Linked DNA regions of Homo sapiens: all the other regions are linked to region 6. Evidence: promoter capture Hi-C in 16 types of primary human blood cells and fetal thymus (Javierre and others, 2016). All regions are on one chromosome and are shown on one strand. The core of a region is centred on a gene start or on the middle of the fragment in contact, and the rest is flanking DNA. Distances in the headings are between cores, read along the strand shown. Region 1 overlaps CCDC112 (coiled-coil domain containing 112). Region 2 overlaps PGGT1B (protein geranylgeranyltransferase type I subunit beta). Region 3 overlaps LOC105379129 (a long non-coding RNA gene). Region 4 overlaps PGGT1B (protein geranylgeranyltransferase type I subunit beta). Region 5 overlaps PGGT1B (protein geranylgeranyltransferase type I subunit beta). Region 6 holds the start of YTHDC2 (YTH N6-methyladenosine RNA binding protein C2). Region 7 overlaps STARD4-AS1 (STARD4 antisense RNA 1).

Region 1 (2,700 bases), core at 181-2,680, 1.8 Mb before region 6:
TATTTAAGATCAACTTTCTTAGAAAAGTGAGCTGAGATTTTCATTATGTTAAGTGAAATAAGCCATACACAGAAAGACAGACAATGCATGATCTCATTTATATGTGGAATCTTAAAAAAGTCAAACTCAGAAACAGAGAATAGAATGGTGATTACCAGGAGTCTGGGGGTGATGAGGTGGGAGTGGGGATAATGGGGAGATGTTGGTCAAAGGGTACAAGTTATAAAATAGAAAAGATCTAGAGACCTAATGTACAGCATGGTGAGTATAGTTAATAATAACGTATTGTATGCTTGAAGTTGCTAATACATATATCTTTAGTATTCAGAATTTGAAAAAATACAGTTCTTTAAAATATCCAAAATGCATTACTCTAGATAGAATTAGATTCTAGGTTAGAGGTTCTGTTTTATGTTTCTTTCTAGATAGGGTAATGTCCACCAAATGGTTAATATCCATAGATGCAGCAACCAGTGTGTTTTACAGTTCTGAGAAGGCTTCTTCATCTGTTTTAGGGCATTGGAAAAACTCACTGAAAGAATATTAGAAAAACTCATTGTAAGAGTGTTTCTATCTAACAATTCACATAAACACAAACGAAAAACCACAATCTATAATATCTTTTTTTAAATTTTTAAAATAGGTAATATATTTACATGGTTCAAGAATCAAAACAAATCAAAGGGTACCCAGTGGAAAGTCTCAGTTTTACTCTTCATCCAAGCCACCCAGTTCCTTTCCACTCAGATAACCCACTAGTTTTGGTTTCTTATGTATCCTTCCCCAGATATTTTATGTGTTTATAAAGAAATATATATTCAGATTTTTCCTTTTTTGTATAAATGGTAGCATACCGTCCACATTGCTCTGCATTTTTTTTTAAAGTGTATGTCTTAGATAACAAGGAATTGTAGATTTTGCTAGGCACAATAATGGCATTATAGTTAGGTAAGTCAAATATCAGTACTCTCTAGAGGCACACACAAAAGTTTGTTGGGGTGAAATTGCATAATGTGATGGATTTACTTGAAAATACTTAAGCTAAGCTAAGCAAAGCAAAGGTAGATGTAATGGATCTACTTGAAAATACTTAAACTGAGCAAAGCAAAGATAGATGGATAGATGAAATGAGAGGTAAAACTGCTGAATCAGGGTGAGATAAAATTCATATCATATGATGGGTGTCAATTTACCATTCTGTACTTTTGAATATGTCTAACATTTTCCTACAAAAACTTTGTTTAAAAAAGAGGTTATCTTGGAGATCTTTTCCTGTCAGTACGTAGAACAGAGTACCACTGTATCATATTCCAGTGTATGAATGTAATATGATTTATTTAACCTGCCCATATTTATGGACATTTAGGTTATATTCAATCTTTTTTTAATAACAAACAGTGCTGCAATTAATTACCATACCCACATAGGTCAACATTATTTGTTTGTAAGTATATCTTCAGGATAAATTCCTAAAAGGAAATACTGGGTCAGAGATAAATGAATTTACAAATGTGATAAATATTGCTAAATTGCCCTCCGTAGACAACAGTTCCACCAACAATGTATGAGAAGACATGTTTTCCTCACAGTTTTGTCAACAAAATATATTAAATTTGTGATTTTTTTGCCAATATGATAGGTGTGCAGTGTTACTGTGATATAGTTTTAATTTGCATTTCTTCTATTGAGGAGGTTGTTTTCATTTTTGTCGACTTGTCTCCATTAATTAGCATATTTTGAATATCCTTATAGGTTAATATTTCTAATCCAGGAAAAACAGAAAGTAAGTTGAGTTTGTGATGAACTAAAAACTGTTGAGTGATATAAAGTTGTAGCATATCCTGTGTCCATGGCAGACGTTTCTTTTTATCATAGTAATTTTCCCCATCTGCAACCAGAGCCTAGATGAACTTCCCAGTCCTCAACACAGGACTCAGTCCATTAGAGTTGCCAGGTGGGACTGAAATCTATTTGATATCTTTATCTACCCATTATTTCTTCTCACAAACAATAGAAGCTACCTAAACACACATGCTAAGACATGATCCCCTCAGCCTCTGGAGAAGTGTGGTGGGCTCTGGGGCAGTCTCATCTGTCTACCCCCATGTGTCTTATGAATATTAAATTTTTCTCTATGGGCGGTCAGATGCGGTGGCTCATGCCTGTAATCCCAGCATTTTGGGAGGCCAAGGAGGGAAGATTACTTGAGGTCAGGAGTTTGAGACTAGCCTGGCCAACATGGCGAAATTCTGTCTCTATGAAAAATACAAAAATTAGCCAGTCATGGTGGCAGGCGCTTGTAGTCCCAGTTACTCGGGAGGCTGAGGCAGGGGAATTGCTTGAACCAGGGAGGCGGAGGTTACAGTGAGCTGAAATCGCACCACTGCACTCCAGCCTGGGTGACAGAGCGAGAGTCTGTCTCAAAAAAAAAAAAAAAATTCTCTATGTATGGCAAAGTGGAAAAGATTGGGAAACTCTACGGTATAGATAGTTGCCTCTCAGGTTGTGTGAATTAAGTAAATGGCCAGTGATGCTCCACCACTTATTAAATCCAAGATTAGTGGAGAAATATTCATATTAATTTCCACCTGGGAGAAAGAAACACATTAAGAAAATTAATTTTGGCTGGGCATGATGGCTCACGCACTTTGGGAGGCCGAGGTGGGCAGATCACTTGAGCTCAGGAGTTCAAGACCAGCC
Region 2 (2,700 bases), core at 106-2,605, 1.7 Mb before region 6:
GCAGGAATATTTCCTTACACCCCTACTTGCCTATATTTTCATATAAAACATGCTTCCTAGGCCAGGAGTTTTGGCTCACGCCTGTAATCCCAACAGTTTGGGAGGCTGAGGTGGGCGGATCACTTGAGGCAAGGAGTTTGAGACTAGCCTGGCCACATGGTGAAACATTGCCTCTACTAAAAATACAATAATTAGCCAGGCGTGGTGGTGGGTGCCTGTAATCCCAACTACTTGGGAGGCTGGGGCAGAAGAATTGCCTGAACCTGGGAGGCAGAGGTTGCAGTGAGCCAAGGTCACACCACTGCACTCCAGCCTGGGCAACAGAGCAAGAGTACATCTCAAAAAATAAAATAAAATAAATGGCCGGGTGCAGTGGCTCACGCCTGTAATCCCAGCTTTGGGAGGCTGATGCTGGTGAATCACTTGAAGTCAGGAGTTGAAGACCAGCCTGGTCAATATGGCGAGACCCCGTCTCTACCAAAAATACAAAAATAGCCAGGCATGGTGGTGCACACCTGTAGTCCCAGCTACTCAGGAGGCTGAGGCAGGAGAATTGCTTGAACCCAGGAGGTGGAGGTTGCAGTGAGCCAAGATCTCACCATTGCACTCCAGCCTGGGCGACAGAGCGAGACTCTGTCTCAATCAATCAATCAGTAGTAAAACATGTCTTCTTAGAGAAAGTGTACATTGCTTTCAAAGTCGTAAGCCAAAGTGTGTCTTCAGAAGTTAATTTCTCAAGCAAAATAATATCTTGAAATTTTTGATATCTCTAGTGCCTCAAAACTGAGAATTATTTTGGTCTTCATTCCATTTTTTAAACCAGTGCAGGGTACTGTTTTAACAAATAATGGGAGTAGGGAAATGACAGTCTCTTAGGAAACATTTCTTGTATAAACATACTTGAAATACATTCAGTGTTTCCAATAGCTTTTTTAAAAGAAAGTTCTTGAGGCTTTTTCCGGAGAGTTCAGTTGCTAACTTTAACATTTGTGTAAATATTTGGATGTACTACTTACTTTTTACAGATACATTACAATGTTTTCAGAGTATGCAATAGAAAGCATAGAAGGGCTTTGCTAAATTGAATTTATGTGTAAAGATCTGGTCCCAGAATCTTTAATCATTTTAACAAGATTCTTTAAAATTAAGCTTATTCTTCATTCTAGTGAATTTAGTGGCAAATTTGATACAAAGGGATTTTATATACATTTATGAAAGAAACTTCAAAAGAATAACCTTTTATTGTGGAGTAAATATATATTTCAACATCTAAAGTGCTTTATTATGGAGTAAACATATAGTTCCACATCTAAAGTGCTTGTACGTTGCCACTTACAGATAAGGAGTTTTTTTAAAAACACAATTTGAGGCTTCAAACAATTGAGTTCTGATCTCATTGGCTGTTACAAAAATCTTTTTGAGAAACAAATAAGTTTTATTTGTTACTTTACCCAGAGAGATTTTAGTTTTACACAGTTCTATTTTATGTTATTATAGATATATATTTTCTGTTGTACTTTTTCCTAGAAAAGTTTCCTAGTTTCTAGAAAACAAAGCTTAATGTTGCTTTGTACCCTTTGTAGTTTTAGAATAACTATATGGATGTAATATGACAGGTGAAATCAAGTTTATTTTTTATAGTCTGAAAGTCAAAGGAAAGTGAGCCAGAAGAAACCTAAGTATTTTCTGAAAAGGCCTAAAAGGTGATCAACATGGGCCTCCATTAGTTAAATAACATTTTCACAATGGCATTGAGTAAGCACAGCTATTTGTCATTTCTGTTTTGAAAAATAAGTGATACTGTTGTAAGTAAAGCTTTTTCTTTAACTCTTTTGACAAAGTTTGATGTGGTAAGATGTGTTGAACTTTTTGTTGTTGTTGTTTTGAGACAGGGTTTCATTATTTTGCCCAGGCTAGAGTGCAGTGATATAATCATGCCTCACTGCAGCCTCAACCTCCCTAGGCTCAGGTGAGCCTCCCACCTCAGCCTCCCGAGTAGCCGGAACTACAGGCGCACGCCACCATACCTGGTAATTTTTGTATTTTTTGTAGAGATGGAGCTTCACCGTATTGCCCAGGCTGGTATCGAACTCCTGTGGCTCAAGGAATATGCCCTTCTCGGCCTCCCAAAGTGCTGGGATTACAGGTGTGAGCCACCACACCCAGCCTGTTTTGAACTTTAATAGCTCTTAAGGCCATAAATGTCGGCCAATTCAAAAATAGAAAAAAATTTTGACTGGTACAAAACTGTCTTTTTAATGTTCCTATAACTGCAAAGCTCTGAGCTCTTCAGAAGTCTACATAAGACTCCTAGGCAGGAATGGCCATGTGATTTCATTGGCCACTTTAATAGAAGAGGATCGCTGCCCCCTGAAAGATGGGAAACTAGTGAGCCAGTGCAGAATTGTCATGGTATGAGCACTCATATTATTTCAACCAAATAGAATGTGAGTTTGTTTTTATTGTCAGATCAGATATTTTTACAATGACTGACATTACCCTAAATAGGAGGATTAAATATGGCACAGCATTCCAGAATGGATTATTTTTGCATAAGCTCCTTTTATTTAACACAATGTTAGGATAGTACTGCATATGGTTTAGGAACTTTCAGAGGTAAAACGTGGAGCGAGGGATATTGCAACTTAGATTCAGAGTTTTGTTTTCGTTTTAAAGAAAAAAAAACTTAATGATATAGCA
Region 3 (2,700 bases), core at 140-2,639, 1.8 Mb before region 6:
TGCTACTGAGTACTTCAGGATCAAGGAAGGTTTGAGAAGCTAATGAAAAGTCAGGAACTGGTGACAGTAAATGTAGAGTATTTTTTTTTTCCAAAAAACTGACAATGAAATGGAATAGAAAAAATAGAAGGCTGTGACTTGACTCACATATTGGTCGTGAAACAACACTGAGTTATATGGTGCAGATGAGAGCCAGGCCTAAACAAAGTGATTCTAAAATGTTGAAACTACAAGGCTGGGCAAAGGCGTACCAGAATAAATGTGAACAAAAAGGAATCACCAGACAGTGATTTTAAATATAAGATTGAATTCAGGGCAAAAATAATTAAACAGGAAGTATACTTTACAATAATAACAGGTGTAATCCACAATGAAAATCTAAGTTATATATTCTATACCCTAAATAACGCAGCATCAACATTCATTAGAAGGACTACAGGAGATACAAGAAGAAAAAATAGAAACATAAGTATCAGAAGACTAAGACAGATTAAGAATTCAAAAAATTAAGTGAAGATTGGGAGGGAATATAATAATGTGCAGTAAAACTGACTATAAAATATTTTCAAATAGTATTTTAATAATATGTAGACTTAGAGGAAAAATAGGCTTGCACCCAAGCCTATTTTTATGAACCTTATGAACCAAGAAACAAGAACAATTAAAAAGACAGGTTGGTATGGCAGGCAATGCTAGCAACTAACCCACTCATCCTCATAATAACCCCAATAAAGTATATTTTCAGGATGCTTTGTAGCTAGGGGTGGCTGTGTGATTCAGTTATAGTCAATGATACCTAAAAGGGGGGCATTGGGTAGGGAGGACTCATAGGAAAGCTTTTTTAAATGTGGCAGGTCTGCTGTCATCCTCCTTTTGCTCTTTGCCTTTGTAGCAACACATTGTAGATGTCCTGCCTCTGAGTTCACCCATCTACACTGATGGCCTCCACCTGTGTCCATGCTGTTCCGCTTCTTGACCTAACAGCTTTCTCTAGAAGCTTGTTTAGCCATTGTATGGGCAGCCTATAAAAGCTGGTGTTTAATGTCCCCACAGCAACGCTCAACGAGTGAGGTTTGGGATTTGGTAGATAGATAACTCAGCTTTCCCACCCCTTAGTAGGGAAACTCTGAGGACAGTCCTATAAGATTCCTCAGAGGTCCCCAGCTGGAGTGAGGCCCAGTTGCCCACAGCACTAACCACTAAAACACCCTCTGTTGGCTTTTCTCCCTTTCCTATTTCACTTTCTCGACGCTGTCACTTGGCTTCTTGAGATCACCTCCCAAACAACCTATCTCCTGTACCCAAGTCCTTGTCTCATGATCTAATTTCATGGGAACCCAAACTATGAAAGCCCTTTTCCTTCTTCCTGTCTAGAATGTAAGTCTGAGAATTGGATAGAAAGAGATAGCATGATATCTATTTTCAGAGAGTATATACTATAAATGGAAACCCTAAGATAATCATTCTAAAAATAATATCAAAATTAAGAAAAATGACCCAAGTAGCAATAAAGAAAAGCGATTGTCTTTATATATTCAAAGAAAAATAAGCTAGAAGATATAAAGGAAGAGGAAATCCAGCTTACAGTTGCAGTAAATATTGTTAAACTCAAGAATAAACTTAAAATCTTTAATTTTCAAAGATGCAAAAGTGGACTAGAACAAATGTAAACAAATGTAAATATGCTTTGTTCGTGGATAGGACAACGGCACCTCATACACATATTAATTCTTTCCAAGTTAATAAATTTAATGTGATTCTAATGAAAATGCCAAGCTTTTTTCCCCAAAGTAGACTATTGATTCAAAGTTTCTGTGGAAAATGAGCAAGCAGGGAAAGCTAAGAAAACTCTGGAAAAGAAGAATGAGAGAAACTAGTCCAATAAGCTATTAAAACATTTCATAAAGTCCTTATAATTTAAAAAGCATCTATTCATTAATACATAAGTAGACCGATACAATGATAGAAGAGAATAGAAAAATTCAGGAGAAATAGGACAATTATATACGAAAAGTTAAGTGGCACCAAAAATTACCACTAAACATATGCTTTTAAAGAATAATGTCGAAATAACTGGATAGTCATTTGGGTAAAAGTAAAAATTGGGTCCACATTTCACACTGAATATCAGAAAGAAATCCAAATAATCCAGATATATAAATGTGAAAGGTGAAACCACAGAAGAAAACAGGAATTCACTTCATTATAAACTTGGAGTGAGAAACGCCTTTCTAGAGATGATTATAAATCCCAAAGCACTGAAAAAAATAATAAAAGACTGACAAATTTGACTACATAAAAATAAAAAGAACTTGCTCAAAGCAAAAAAAGGAAAAGTCATAAAACAAATTTAAAACCTGAAAGAAATATTTGCAATTTATACCACAAAATATATCATAATCTCCTAATTAACAAACAGTTCTTAAAAACTGGGAAGAAAGGCACCAAATACCAGTTGGGAAAAGATGTAAAGAGACAGTTAAAAAAAAAAAAAGCAAGCAATTGTCCTTAAACTTATGAAAAAGGCTGACCTTCCTCATAATAACATAAAGGCATACAGACATCCCTCAGAAACATTGCAGGAAATATTACACACAAATTTAAGGTTTCCAAGTGCATATAAAAGTTATGTTTACACTATACTGCAGTCTATTAAGTGTGTAATAACATTGCATCTAAAAAAGCAATGTACATACCTTA
Region 4 (2,700 bases), core at 166-2,665, 1.7 Mb before region 6:
ATGGTTATCAATTTTATTTGTGTTCTTATTTCTTAATGTAGATGCTTATTTATAATTTTAGATGCAATATGATGTAGTCATAGGCCCATCTGGTATCTAGGCAGGAATGTAGTCCATTGTTTAAGACACTTGTTTAAGACACTTGGTAAAGGATGGGGTTGCACCAGAAAGGGTCAGGACAAGGGATCCAAAGTTTGGGAATCTAGTCAACTCTCATAAATTAGTGTTTTCAGTATATTTCTTATATCAGTATGACTAAGTTCTTTTTTCCACTGTCCAGACTATAGACTGTTTTTCATTCTTTTTTTTTTTTTTTTTTTTTGAGATGGAGTTTTGCTATTGTTGCCCAGGCTGGAGTGCAATGGCACGATCTCGGCTCACTGCAACCTCAGCTCACTGTAACCTCCACCTACTGGGTTCAAGTGAGTCTCCTGCCTCAGCCTCCCTAGTAGCTGGGATTACAGGTGCCCACCACCACGCCTAGCTGACTTTTTGTATTTTTAGTAGAGATGGAGTTTCATCATGTTGGCCAGGCTGGTCTCGAGTTCCTGACCTCAGTTGATCCACCCGCTTTGACCTCCCAAAGTGCTGGGATTGCAGGAGTGAGCCACTGCGCCCATCCTTCTTGTTGTTCTTATTTAATCTTTGGGGTATGCGTGTCTTAAGCCTGGAATATTTGACATCTTTTGGAGACACTTAGGTTAACCCTCTTGTCTGTGAATTGATTCTTTGGTAAAGCAACTTGATTGGGGGTTGGGGGATGTTACTTTTTCATCCTTGTAAGATAAACTTCTTATACATATTGTTCAGAGTGAGAGAAGAGGGGTGAACAGAAAGATATTGTTTGCTTATTTACACTTCTCAGGCTGCAGATTCAGATTGAGTTCTAGGGAAAAGAAGAAACAGAATAAACAGATATTCTCTGAAAGAAGTAAAAAAGTAAAAATAACTTCATTGGCTTGATTTTAGGTGCGTGTGTTCGCACAATTACCCCTCTATACACCTGTGCTGAGTCAGGTTGCCCAGCAGTTTATTCCCAAGTAGAAGTCATCTAGGAACCATAAAACCCTACATTATACTATTTCTCTGGGAGGCCCACAGCCCAAAATTCCTTTGTGTTTTTTGTGGCTTGTTTTAATTCTCTCTCTTTCAGTTTTAGGACTACTTGAGAATTCTGATGTGATTGGAAGAGGAATGGTTTCCCAGACTATTTTAAAGGAGGCCAGATATTTGCCCCAAAGTGACTTATTGGTTCTGTCTGCCAAGCATTTCTGATGGGACCTCTTTTTATAAACATAAGCCATTCACCATAACTCTGTTACTCTCATAAACCTTATGGTCTCACCCTAAGTCTTCACCTATGAGTTGAAAATGCTGGACTTTCAGGAGCCCTTAATAATTAAGTATGCAAGATTTTAAAATACCATCACATGGCTGATTTCTTGTATTTGGCACTTACATGTAGAGTGCATTCATATCCAGGAGCAAGTAACATGACAAACAGATCATTCAGATAACGTATACAGATAAGAGTATGACCTTAAAGCAGGTTTTCTCAACCTCAGCACTATTAACATTTTAGGCCAGATAATTCTTGGTTGTATGGACCTGTCCTGTGCATTGTAGACATTTAGCAGCAGCCGTGGCTTTTACCCACTTGATGCCAGTAACTCCCTCCTCCACTGTGACAACCAAGAATGTTTGATTATGATATATTATGTTAGGGTCAGTGTTCCCAGTAGAGAACCACTGTTCTCAAACAGTGCTTCTGAAACCTGCCTGCACATTAAAATTACCTGGGAAGTTAAATACAAAAACAAACCGAAAGGGCCCAGACCCCACCTTACACCCATAGATTTGATTGTGAAGTAGGACCTTGATCTCTATGTTATGTTGGTGGTGTTTTGGTCGTTTGTTTTTAAGCAGATTCTAATGAGCAGTTTTTAAGCAGATTCTAATGAGAAGCACCCCTGTGGAGAATACCACTTTGGGACTTAGACTTCTTGAGTAGTTTTGATTGTCTAGTGTTGAAATTTCAAGTAAATTACTTGAATTTTTTGGGCTTTATATTCTTCAGTTAGAAAATCAAAGAGATGGACTAGATCATTTCTAAATTTCTTAATTTTGAAAAAAATGCCAACTTGTTTTTATAGCCTTTTGCATAAATTCTCTTACTACATAGCTTTTACTGACAGGAAGATCTTTGTTTTATCCATTGTCTGACCTCAAGTCCTTCATGTTTTCCTCCACTTTTGTCTCTGTCTTCTTTTTGCCCTTTTCCTTAATAACGCTTTAATAAACTGTATTAGTAGATGCTTAATTGTACCTGACTATAAATATAATCATTTACTTTATGTATTATATCAAAACCAAAAAACCCTGTTAGAGCTCTCCGGGAGGGTTAGATGTAGTATTGCAGGTCCTTTATTAGTTCAGTAAATATTTGAGTGCATACAAACAAAGTGGACCTTCTCTCATGAGACATAATTACCACCAAGGGCAGTGATTTTCACACTTTGTTGCTATTATGTAGAGGTTTTTCCCATGTCTAAAGGTTTATTGTGTTTGGAGAAGCACATTCCTCTGGGGAAAATGGTTACAACCAAGAGTCTATAGAAAAGGCCTGTAGTGTTATAGACTGTGATTAGATCCTAAAGTCGTTGTTACTCTTGTCCCTCCAAATCATGGCAAAGACCAAGG
Region 5 (2,700 bases), core at 18-2,517, 1.7 Mb before region 6:
TTTCTGACTTTATAAGACTTAAATTATAAGTGATAGCGTGATTAAGTTTGAGGTTTAAATAATTTAGCCAGGCATGGTGGTTTGTGCCTGTTGTAGTCCCAGCTACTCTGGAGGCTGAGGCCGGAGAATCACTTGAGCCCAGGAGTTGGAGACTGCAGTGAGCTATGATTGCACCACTACAGTCCAGCCTGGGTGACAGATAAGACCCTGTTACTAAAAAAAAAAAAAAAAAAAAAAAAAAAAAATCCAAAAAAATAAGTAATACATAATTTGCTTTACCTGAATATCATAACTACTTCCATAATGCCTGAGGTATCAAAGAATTTAAAGATTAAGTAGCCTGTGCAATCATATTCATATTGAGACATACATAAAATGGAGATTTGTTTTTCTCAATAAGATGTCTATACAAATCAGTATAAGCCATATTTAATTTTACTATTTACTAAAACCTTATGTCAGATTTCTTAATGAAATAAGTTTTCATTTCACTTCATTAATTAGTACTATATTAATTTTGTATTTAGGCTCCTGGAACAGCTCATCCTTATGATAGTGGCCACATTGCAATGACCTACACTGGCCTCTCATGCTTAGTTATTCTTGGAGACGACTTAAGCCGAGTAAATAAAGAAGCTTGCTTAGCGGGCTTGAGAGCCCTTCAGCTGGAAGATGGGAGGTATGAGTGATTCTTTGTTACTTTTTTTGTAATAAACAAAAATATATTGGAACTAAAAAATGGATACAGTACTATACTAGATCTTTAGAGGATCATACTCTATTAGAACCCCACCTAAAGCTTACGAGGTACATAATTAAGTGCATAGTCAAAAAAGTGACCTCAGATTTCCTCTGTGAGTGAAAATAATAGTAATTACAATAGCCAAACACCTTTATCTTCCTTCTTAATAACAATGGGTACATAAATAAATGGTTGAATAATTTCAGGATTGGAATCTAATTTACATTCTAGATGAAAAATTGATATTTTGAAGTACGCATACATTTAGTCTGGACCTCAGTTCCTTGCTTTATGGTGATTAGGGAAGAAAGGGGTGAACACTGAATATTGTATTCCAGAGTAGGTAGTTTCCATGACATTTTTAAAGGATAGAAAAAGGAGTTCGTATGTTCATTGATATTTGGTGATTCACATAGTGTGTCTAAAGATGAATCTTCCTGGAGCTTTAAGGTAGAAAAAAAATTTTAAGTCTGAGAAGCGATAAAGCAGTAGTGAAAAGATTAAGGAAAAGACTGCAAACAAATCCTGCTGTGCTGTTAACTCTTTGTGCTCCATCTACTAATAGCTCTGTTTTCCCGTCAGTGTTTTCAAAACACTGCTCTTGATGAGGGAAAAATAAATGTAGACAAGTAGAATAAATTGACATTAATTGGAAACCCTATGAAACTAAATATTTACTTCATCCAGTACATATATGACTTATGTCTCAATATTTCAGTGTAGTCTTTGATTATTGCTTCCTTATTCTTGTTTATAAATACATACACAACATAGATTGCTGCCTCTCTACAACTAATATGTAAAATTAAAATACAATATGATCAATCGATTAAATGGTTATCTGTGTATACATTTAGAAGAAATTTCACATAGAAAAACTTGGGCTTGGAAATTTCGTATACCCAGTAGGTCTCAGGTTTTACCTTTTACTTTTTCTGCCATTCTCAAGCCAGTATACTGCAGCTGTCCCTGGCTAGGATCAAATAAGCTTATGCTGAGTAAGCATCCAGGAGGGAGTAACATGGTAGTGTGTAAAAATACCAAGAAGTCAAAAGTTTGTAGTAGAATGATGATTTAGAGAAAGTTTTATATTATTCAAGTTAGTAGTCTTATTCTTTATTGAATAATAAAAGTAGAATATTGAATAATAAAAGTAGAATAATCAACAGATTTTTCTGTTAGTAAAGACAAGCAGGAGGTGTTTCTAACCCCCATGCAAAAAAATCAGAGTCCAGTGTTAATAGAAAATCATATTGTTGTTATTATTTTCAGTTTTTGTGCAGTACCTGAAGGCAGTGAAAATGACATGCGATTTGTGTACTGTGCTTCCTGTATTTGCTATATGCTCAACAACTGGTCAGGCATGGATATGAAAAAAGCCATCACCTATATTAGAAGGAGTATGGTGAGTTCTGTTGATAAAATTGACTATTTAGGTTGTTTTTGCTGGTACATGAGGGCTGTATTATAGTGTATGTCTCATCTCTTCCGCCAACAATTTGTAAATAAGAGCATTAAGATTGCTTTTTGGTAAATTGTGTATCAGAACACAATAAAGAAATAATCTTAAAGTGCAGATTGACTCCTTGGCCATTAAAATTTAATATGATTTTATTTAAAGAAGCAGTATCTTTATAAGAAAGGGATTGGTTGACTTAAAAGAAAAATAAGTAAAATCTGAAAGTCGAATATTGACAGCCTATTCTAGCAGGAGTTAGTAGAGAGTCCTGACACGCAAACTGGAAGATTATGTTATCTTTGGTGAGACTATTTCTCTCATCTTTTTATTGGCATTAGTAAGGAAAGCTTAGTCTTAGCCAGAACTATCCTTTGCTCTACTGTGTCATCTCTGTATAAAAGGAGAAATAAAACTTCTGCATTCCAGGTTTATTATTTCCCAAATATGAAGTTTTTCATTTTATAGATTATTTTGAGGCTGTTAGAATATTTTAGGCTGT
Region 6 (2,700 bases), core at 96-2,595:
GCTATGTATTAAACCTAAATGTGATAAAGGCCTCTGATATTCACCAAAAACGACTCCTCTTACTTGTTCTGGAATTTTGAGTTGGTATAATGACTGAACATATTTAACTTGGTCCCTACTTGTTTAGTTAACAAAATGTTTATTTTCTTCAATGATGAGATATGTTCAAATATTATGAATTCTCAACATGAAACTCCATTGTCTTTGCTTTCAAAACTGTACAGAATTCGTATTTCACTATTTCAGAGGGATTTGTTATATATTGCTGAGGCTTTCTCTTTTTTTAATGTGAATTTAGAATCTCTCTGTCTAGAACATTCCCCGTTTTGGACTATAAGATTCCAGAGTAAGAGGTCCCCTAACTAAGCCAGCAGGTCCGAATGAGCCCTCAACAGACTGCACAGGTCACCGCAGGTCAGTTGCTGGTTCTGCATTATATGACCCAAGACAAGTGGCTATCTAACCTCAAGAGGTGTGGAAGATGCTTCGTGTGCCAAACAAGTTTAATTTAAGTGGGTAGCGTGATGCTTCAGGGTCCAAACGTATTGCTGGTGCATTTATTTATATGTTTGATTTCTTTCTGCTCTTCTACATCTGTAGCTTAAACGTGCCACAATTAGGTGACACCCCCTTAAAAAGGGTTAGGGCTAACCAATATCTGAAACACGGTGGCTTAACCGCCCAAGGCTGCTGAAAGACGCGGGGGAAAAACACTTTCAGCTAGGGAGCAAAGTGCCCATAACCCCATTGATCCGCAGAGCACCTCGCATTCCACCGCAGGGCCAACAGCCGCGTTCCAGACCCGGGTGCCGCCGCTGAGGCCCGCCCCGGACGGTGGCCCGGGTCTTCCCTCCCTCTTCGGAGGCACCCCCATCACTCGGTGGGCCGCCGTTTGGGGGGCGCTGGGGTGAGGGGGGTATCCTGACTGCCAGCATGGTCCCTGTCCGGAACCTCACCTCTCTGGTCCCCGTATCGGAAGCGCTCCAGCGCGATATTGACTGCGATCTTCACCTCCTCATCAATGCGAATGTCCTTCAGCCCCTTGGCCCGGCCGCCGCCCCCAGGGCCACAAGGCGAGGGGCCGCCGCCTCCGCCACCGCCAGGAGCCGGCTGCCGCGGGGAGACGCTGCTCGGCCTGGACATTGCCCTGAAGAGATGGTCTCTCCGCACGGGAGCGGCCAGGCCTGCTAGCTGACAGCCAATGACAAAGACCGTGGGAATCCGGGGCCACTACCGGGAAGCTCCGGAGACGGCCTGTGTTGGGCTGAGGTCACCAGAAAGGCCTCAGTCACCGCCACAGCAGAAGTGAAGCCTGCGCCATTGATATCACGGCCAGGCGAGGAGCGCGGGCGTAATGACGTCACCAGGGCCGGCGCCCGTGACCTCAGCGCGGCCGCCGCTGCGCGCCTAAAGGAGGCTGTCTGCGGAGCTATGGTGCGGTTCTCTTCCCGCGCCGCCCACCAAGGGTCGCTCCTCATCTTCTTATTCACTCACTTGCTACTTCGTTTAGTCCTTCATTAATTCCTGCAGTAAGCATGTATGGGCTTCTACTGTGGACCTGGCATTATGCCACGCCTTCGATGTACATTGGAGAACCAGAGAGCCAAGGTTCCTACCTTCATGGAGTTTATATTTTAGTGGGAGGAGGGTTGCCAGATTTAGCAAATAAAAATACAGAATGCTTAATAATTTGCATTTCAGATAAACGAATAATTTTTAGTGTATATATTTCCCATGCAATATTTGGAAAAATATCATAAAAAATACATATACTAAAGAATGAGCCACTGTTGTGTGTCTTGCATTCTTCCCTTTTCTGAATGGGAGATTTTAATGCAAGTATGCCACCCTTGCTCTATCACGCTACACAGGGTAGCTGAGTGGGGGCAGGTATGTAGTACATATTTACATAGTTCATGAGTTACCTGGCAATGAGGATATACATCTGGATCTAATAAAGAGGACTGTGTATCAACAACAGATCCTGGATGCAGTGACTAGATAGAATTCCAGGTGTCTGGGGAGGGTATATGTGTATTCTGTGTGTGGTAAGAAGGGGGCGGAATATTTGGTGACAAGAAGTATCTTTTCTTCCTAGGCATTATATTTCCCAACTCTCCTGCAGTTAGCTGGGGGCCACATGGCTGAGTTCCGGCCATTGGAATGTTGCTGGAACTGATGTATACCACTTCCAGGATTGGTCTATAACACCTTCCTTGAATCTTCCCTTCTCTGTCTTTCCTGGTCTTCTGGAAGTTCTTAGACAACGGTGGAACCACTAGATAGATAACAGGTTCCCGATTCCCTGAACGAGTGTGATAGAGTGTCCTCACCAACCCACATTGGAATATGACATGGGTAAGAAATAATTCTTAGTTGTGGTAAACTGCTGAGATTTGGGAAGATTTTTTTTTGTAACATTATGGTAAATTGTTGAATTCATCAAAGGTATGGCCTTTGATGAATCACACATTCCTCTGTTCACACCCTTGTATTCTTCCTTCCCACATGGACTCTGTCTTTGGCTATGTAACTTGCTTTGGCCATTGGGACATCAGCAAATACGAGATAAGCAGGGGCTTGAAAGGTGTTTGTGCATTAAGGCTTAGCCTGTTTTGCTGCTGAGAATTCTTCTTCCACAAAGTAAAGAAGCTTAGGCTAGCCCACTGACAACTATGGCCCAATCATCCACCAGCACCA
Region 7 (2,700 bases), core at 132-2,631, 2.0 Mb after region 6:
GAGGAAGTGTGGGTGAGTCAGCAGAAGGATGTGATGAGGCGGAGAATGGGGGCACTCGCGTGGGGACAGAGGAAAGGCAGGAAGGTCAGATTGGGCCATGTTGTTCATGTACGATCTTCATGTCAGATGAAGAAGTTAGATCTTTAGCTCAACGGTTATATGGAACTATTGAGAGTTTAAAAATGATATTTATAGCCTTTATAATTTTTCAAAGCAAGTGTGCCCACTGTGAAATATTTGGAAACCAAGGAAGACACAAAGCTAAAAGACTATCTGTAACTCTCTCTTTGTTAATATTTGGAATATATCTTTCAGTCTTCATACCACACACATAAATTTTCCCCCAAAACAATATTTACTGTATTTTATATAATAATTATAGAGTATTTTAATGTTTCGGTTTTGTCATTTATTATAGTACATGTCTATTATAAATAAATAACAAAATAGAAGCAAAAACACTAAAAGCAAAACTAAAATTATAAAAATTCTAGGCTCTTACTATTATTTTTATTGTATATGTGTATGTGTATATATGCATCCTTTTGAAAAAATATAGATCCCGTTAAAAAATAGAATAATAATTTACCTACTGTTTAAGACCCTATACTCTTCTCTTAATATATCAGGAAAATCTCGATATGTTGACATGTGCATTTTTATAGCAAAATTTAATACCTGCATCCTATACAAAATAATTTATACGATCTCATATTTTTAAATTGCCTTTATGTCTTTGTTGAAAATCAGTTAATTATGTAAGTATAGGTCTATTGCTGGGCTATTTCATTGACCTATTTGTCTATCTTGATTGAATATCATAATTTTGATCAATGTAACTTTATACCAAGATGTGAAGACAGGAAGTAAAAGTTAGATAACTTAGTTCTTCTTTTTAAAAGTTGTTTTGGCTATTCTATGCCCTTTGCATTTCCACATGAATTTTAGAGTTAGCTGTCAACATCTACAGATGAGCCTGCTGAGATTTTAATTGGGATTTCATTATATCTGTAGATCAAATAGGGAGAATTGATATTTTAGTCATGTTTATCCAAACACATGCCATTTATCTCTATTTACTTAGACTTTAATTTCTCTCATTATGTTTGCTAGTTTGCAATATACAGGCCATGTTCATTTTTTTCATATTTATCCCTAATATGCATATTTAATGGCATGTTTTTATGCCAGTATAAATGGTATTATGTTAATTTTAATTATGTATGTATGTATGTACCTAGTATATAGAAACAGACTTGATTTTTTATATTGATCTTGCATCTCCCAACTTTGTTAAACTCACTTATTAGATGTAATACATATATATAAATTCCATAGGGTTTTCTAGGTAGATGATCGTTTCATCTGTGGATAAAGAAAATTTTATTTTCTTATGTCCAATCTGGATATCTCTTATTTCTTTTTCTTGACTGGCTGGACTGGCTAAAGCCTCCAGGACAATGTTGAATAGAAGGGAGAGAGTAGACATCCTTGCCTGTTTCCTCATATTAGGGGAAAACATTTCATCTTTCATCATTAATAAGACGCTAACAGTACAGTTTCGTAGATGCCCTTGATCAGGTTGGGGTTGTTCCTTTTATTCCTATTTTGCTGACTGTTTTTATTGGGATTAGATTTTGGGCATTTGTCAAATGCTTTTTCGTCATCTCTTTTTTTTTTTTCCCCAGTCTGTCAACATGGTGAATTACATTGATTGTTTTTCAAATGTTAAATTAACCTTGCATCCCTGAGATAAACCCGACTTGGTCATGATGTATTATCCTTTTAATAAATTGTTTATTATTTTATTTGTTATAATTTGGTAAGAATTGTTGTCTCTCCGTTCGTGAGGAATAACGTTCTGTAGTTTTCTTATAATATCTTTTTCTGGCTTTAATGTAATAATGCTGGCCTCGTGGAATGAGTTGGGAAGACTTCAATTTTCTGGAAGAGTTTGGGTTGCAAGGCTATTATTTCGTCCTTAAATGTTTCATAGAATTCACCAGTGAAGACATCTGAAAATGGAATTTTCGTGGAAAGTTTTAAAGCTCTAAATTTAATTTCATTCATTGATATAGTGCTCTTCAGGTTATCTATTTCTTCATGAATGAGCTTAGTAGAATAGTTTGTATCTTTTAAGGAACTTGAAATTCTTTTTTCTTAAGGTGGAAGCTGATGTCATTGACTTGAGACTTCTTCTTTTTTAATTTAGATATTTAGAGCAAAAATTTCCTTATGATTACTGCCTTAGTCGTAAACAATAGATTTTCATATGTCTTTTTTATTTTCATTCAGTTTTTAAAAATCTTAATTTTTTGTTTATTTCTTTTTTGACTCATGGGTTATTTAGCAGTGTGTAATTTTCTTTCTAAATATTTGAGTTTTGTCCAGATTACTTTACTGATTTCTAATTTAATTCTATTGTGGTCAGATAATATACTTTGAATGTCTTTTGTCAGGCTTCTTGATTGGAAATGGAAATTTAATCACGTATTTTTGGACTTGCAGTTTCTAATTTTTATGCTACTAAAAACAATTCTTAGATGAAGATGAACTTGGGTTCTTTTTACCCTTTCTTTTTTATTTTCTTAAAAGTCTCAGAAACAAAAGTTTTGAATCAAAGAGTATATAGTTCCTTCTCTAGAATTTATATATACTGTTACATGCCTTGTTTCATGTTTATATTCAATAATTTGCAAA

What was found. The method cuts DNA at HindIII sites, captures the fragments that hold promoters and counts their contacts. A CHiCAGO score of 5 or more calls a contact.
Region 1: a fragment that was not itself captured here is called in contact with the fragment with the promoter of YTHDC2 in region 6 in 1 of 17 cell types (total B cells); the score reaches 6.0 in total B cells.
Region 2: a fragment that was not itself captured here is called in contact with the fragment with the promoter of YTHDC2 in region 6 in 1 of 17 cell types (naive CD8 T cells); the score reaches 5.8 in naive CD8 T cells.
Region 3: a fragment that was not itself captured here is called in contact with the fragment with the promoter of YTHDC2 in region 6 in 2 of 17 cell types (naive B cells and total B cells); the score reaches 5.9 in naive B cells.
Region 4: a contact is called between a fragment that was not itself captured here and the fragment with the promoter of YTHDC2 in region 6, in 2 of 17 cell types (fetal thymus and non-activated CD4 T cells). The highest score is 6.2, in fetal thymus.
Region 5: a contact is called between a fragment that was not itself captured here and the fragment with the promoter of YTHDC2 in region 6, in 1 of 17 cell types (activated CD4 T cells). The highest score is 6.6, in activated CD4 T cells.
Region 7: a fragment that was not itself captured here is called in contact with the fragment with the promoter of YTHDC2 in region 6 in 1 of 17 cell types (naive B cells); the score reaches 6.3 in naive B cells.

Annotation. Positions count from the first base shown.
Region 1 is chr5:115,280,764-115,283,463 of GRCh38, reverse strand. The region is part of intron 2 of CCDC112 (coiled-coil domain containing 112); the gene reads left to right. Among named protein-coding and RNA genes, the nearest start is that of CCDC112, 15 kb to the left of the region's middle. The HindIII fragment of the contact is 3,968 bases long and covers 1-2,700 here.
Region 2 is chr5:115,212,957-115,215,656 of GRCh38, reverse strand. The region is part of intron 8 of PGGT1B (protein geranylgeranyltransferase type I subunit beta); the gene reads left to right. Among named protein-coding and RNA genes, the nearest start is that of TRIM36, 44 kb to the right of the region's middle. The HindIII fragment of the contact is 407 bases long and covers 1,152-1,558 here.
Region 3 is chr5:115,301,317-115,304,016 of GRCh38, reverse strand. All of the region lies in intron 1 of LOC105379129 (a long non-coding RNA gene), which reads right to left. Among named protein-coding and RNA genes, the nearest start is that of CCDC112, 6.0 kb to the right of the region's middle. The HindIII fragment of the contact is 779 bases long and covers 1,000-1,778 here.
Region 4 is chr5:115,255,153-115,257,852 of GRCh38, reverse strand. The region is part of intron 1 of PGGT1B (protein geranylgeranyltransferase type I subunit beta); the gene reads left to right. Among named protein-coding and RNA genes, the nearest start is that of PGGT1B, 6.4 kb to the left of the region's middle. The HindIII fragment of the contact is 3,451 bases long and covers 1-2,700 here.
Region 5 is chr5:115,235,837-115,238,536 of GRCh38, reverse strand. PGGT1B (protein geranylgeranyltransferase type I subunit beta) reads left to right here. Exons shown (of 9, transcript NM_005023.4): 4 at 528-679; 5 at 2,015-2,147. Among named protein-coding and RNA genes, the nearest start is that of PGGT1B, 26 kb to the left of the region's middle. The HindIII fragment of the contact is 931 bases long and covers 802-1,732 here.
Region 6 is chr5:113,512,339-113,515,038 of GRCh38, reverse strand. It overlaps YTHDC2 (YTH N6-methyladenosine RNA binding protein C2), which reads right to left and starts at 1,345. Exons shown (of 30, transcript NM_022828.5): 1 at 957-1,345. The coding sequence starts at 1,143. LOC124901046 (a long non-coding RNA gene) reads left to right here and starts at 1,381. Exons shown (of 2, transcript XR_007058905.1): 1 at 1,381-1,608; 2 at 2,099-2,700. RefSeq lists a silencer at 860-1,089 and enhancers at 1,042-1,543, 1,540-1,589. The HindIII fragment of the contact is 3,291 bases long and covers 1-2,654 here.
Region 7 is chr5:111,527,726-111,530,425 of GRCh38, reverse strand. The region is part of intron 1 of STARD4-AS1 (STARD4 antisense RNA 1); the gene reads right to left. Among named protein-coding and RNA genes, the nearest start is that of STARD4, 17 kb to the right of the region's middle. RefSeq lists an enhancer at 1-382. The HindIII fragment of the contact is 5,472 bases long and covers 1-2,700 here.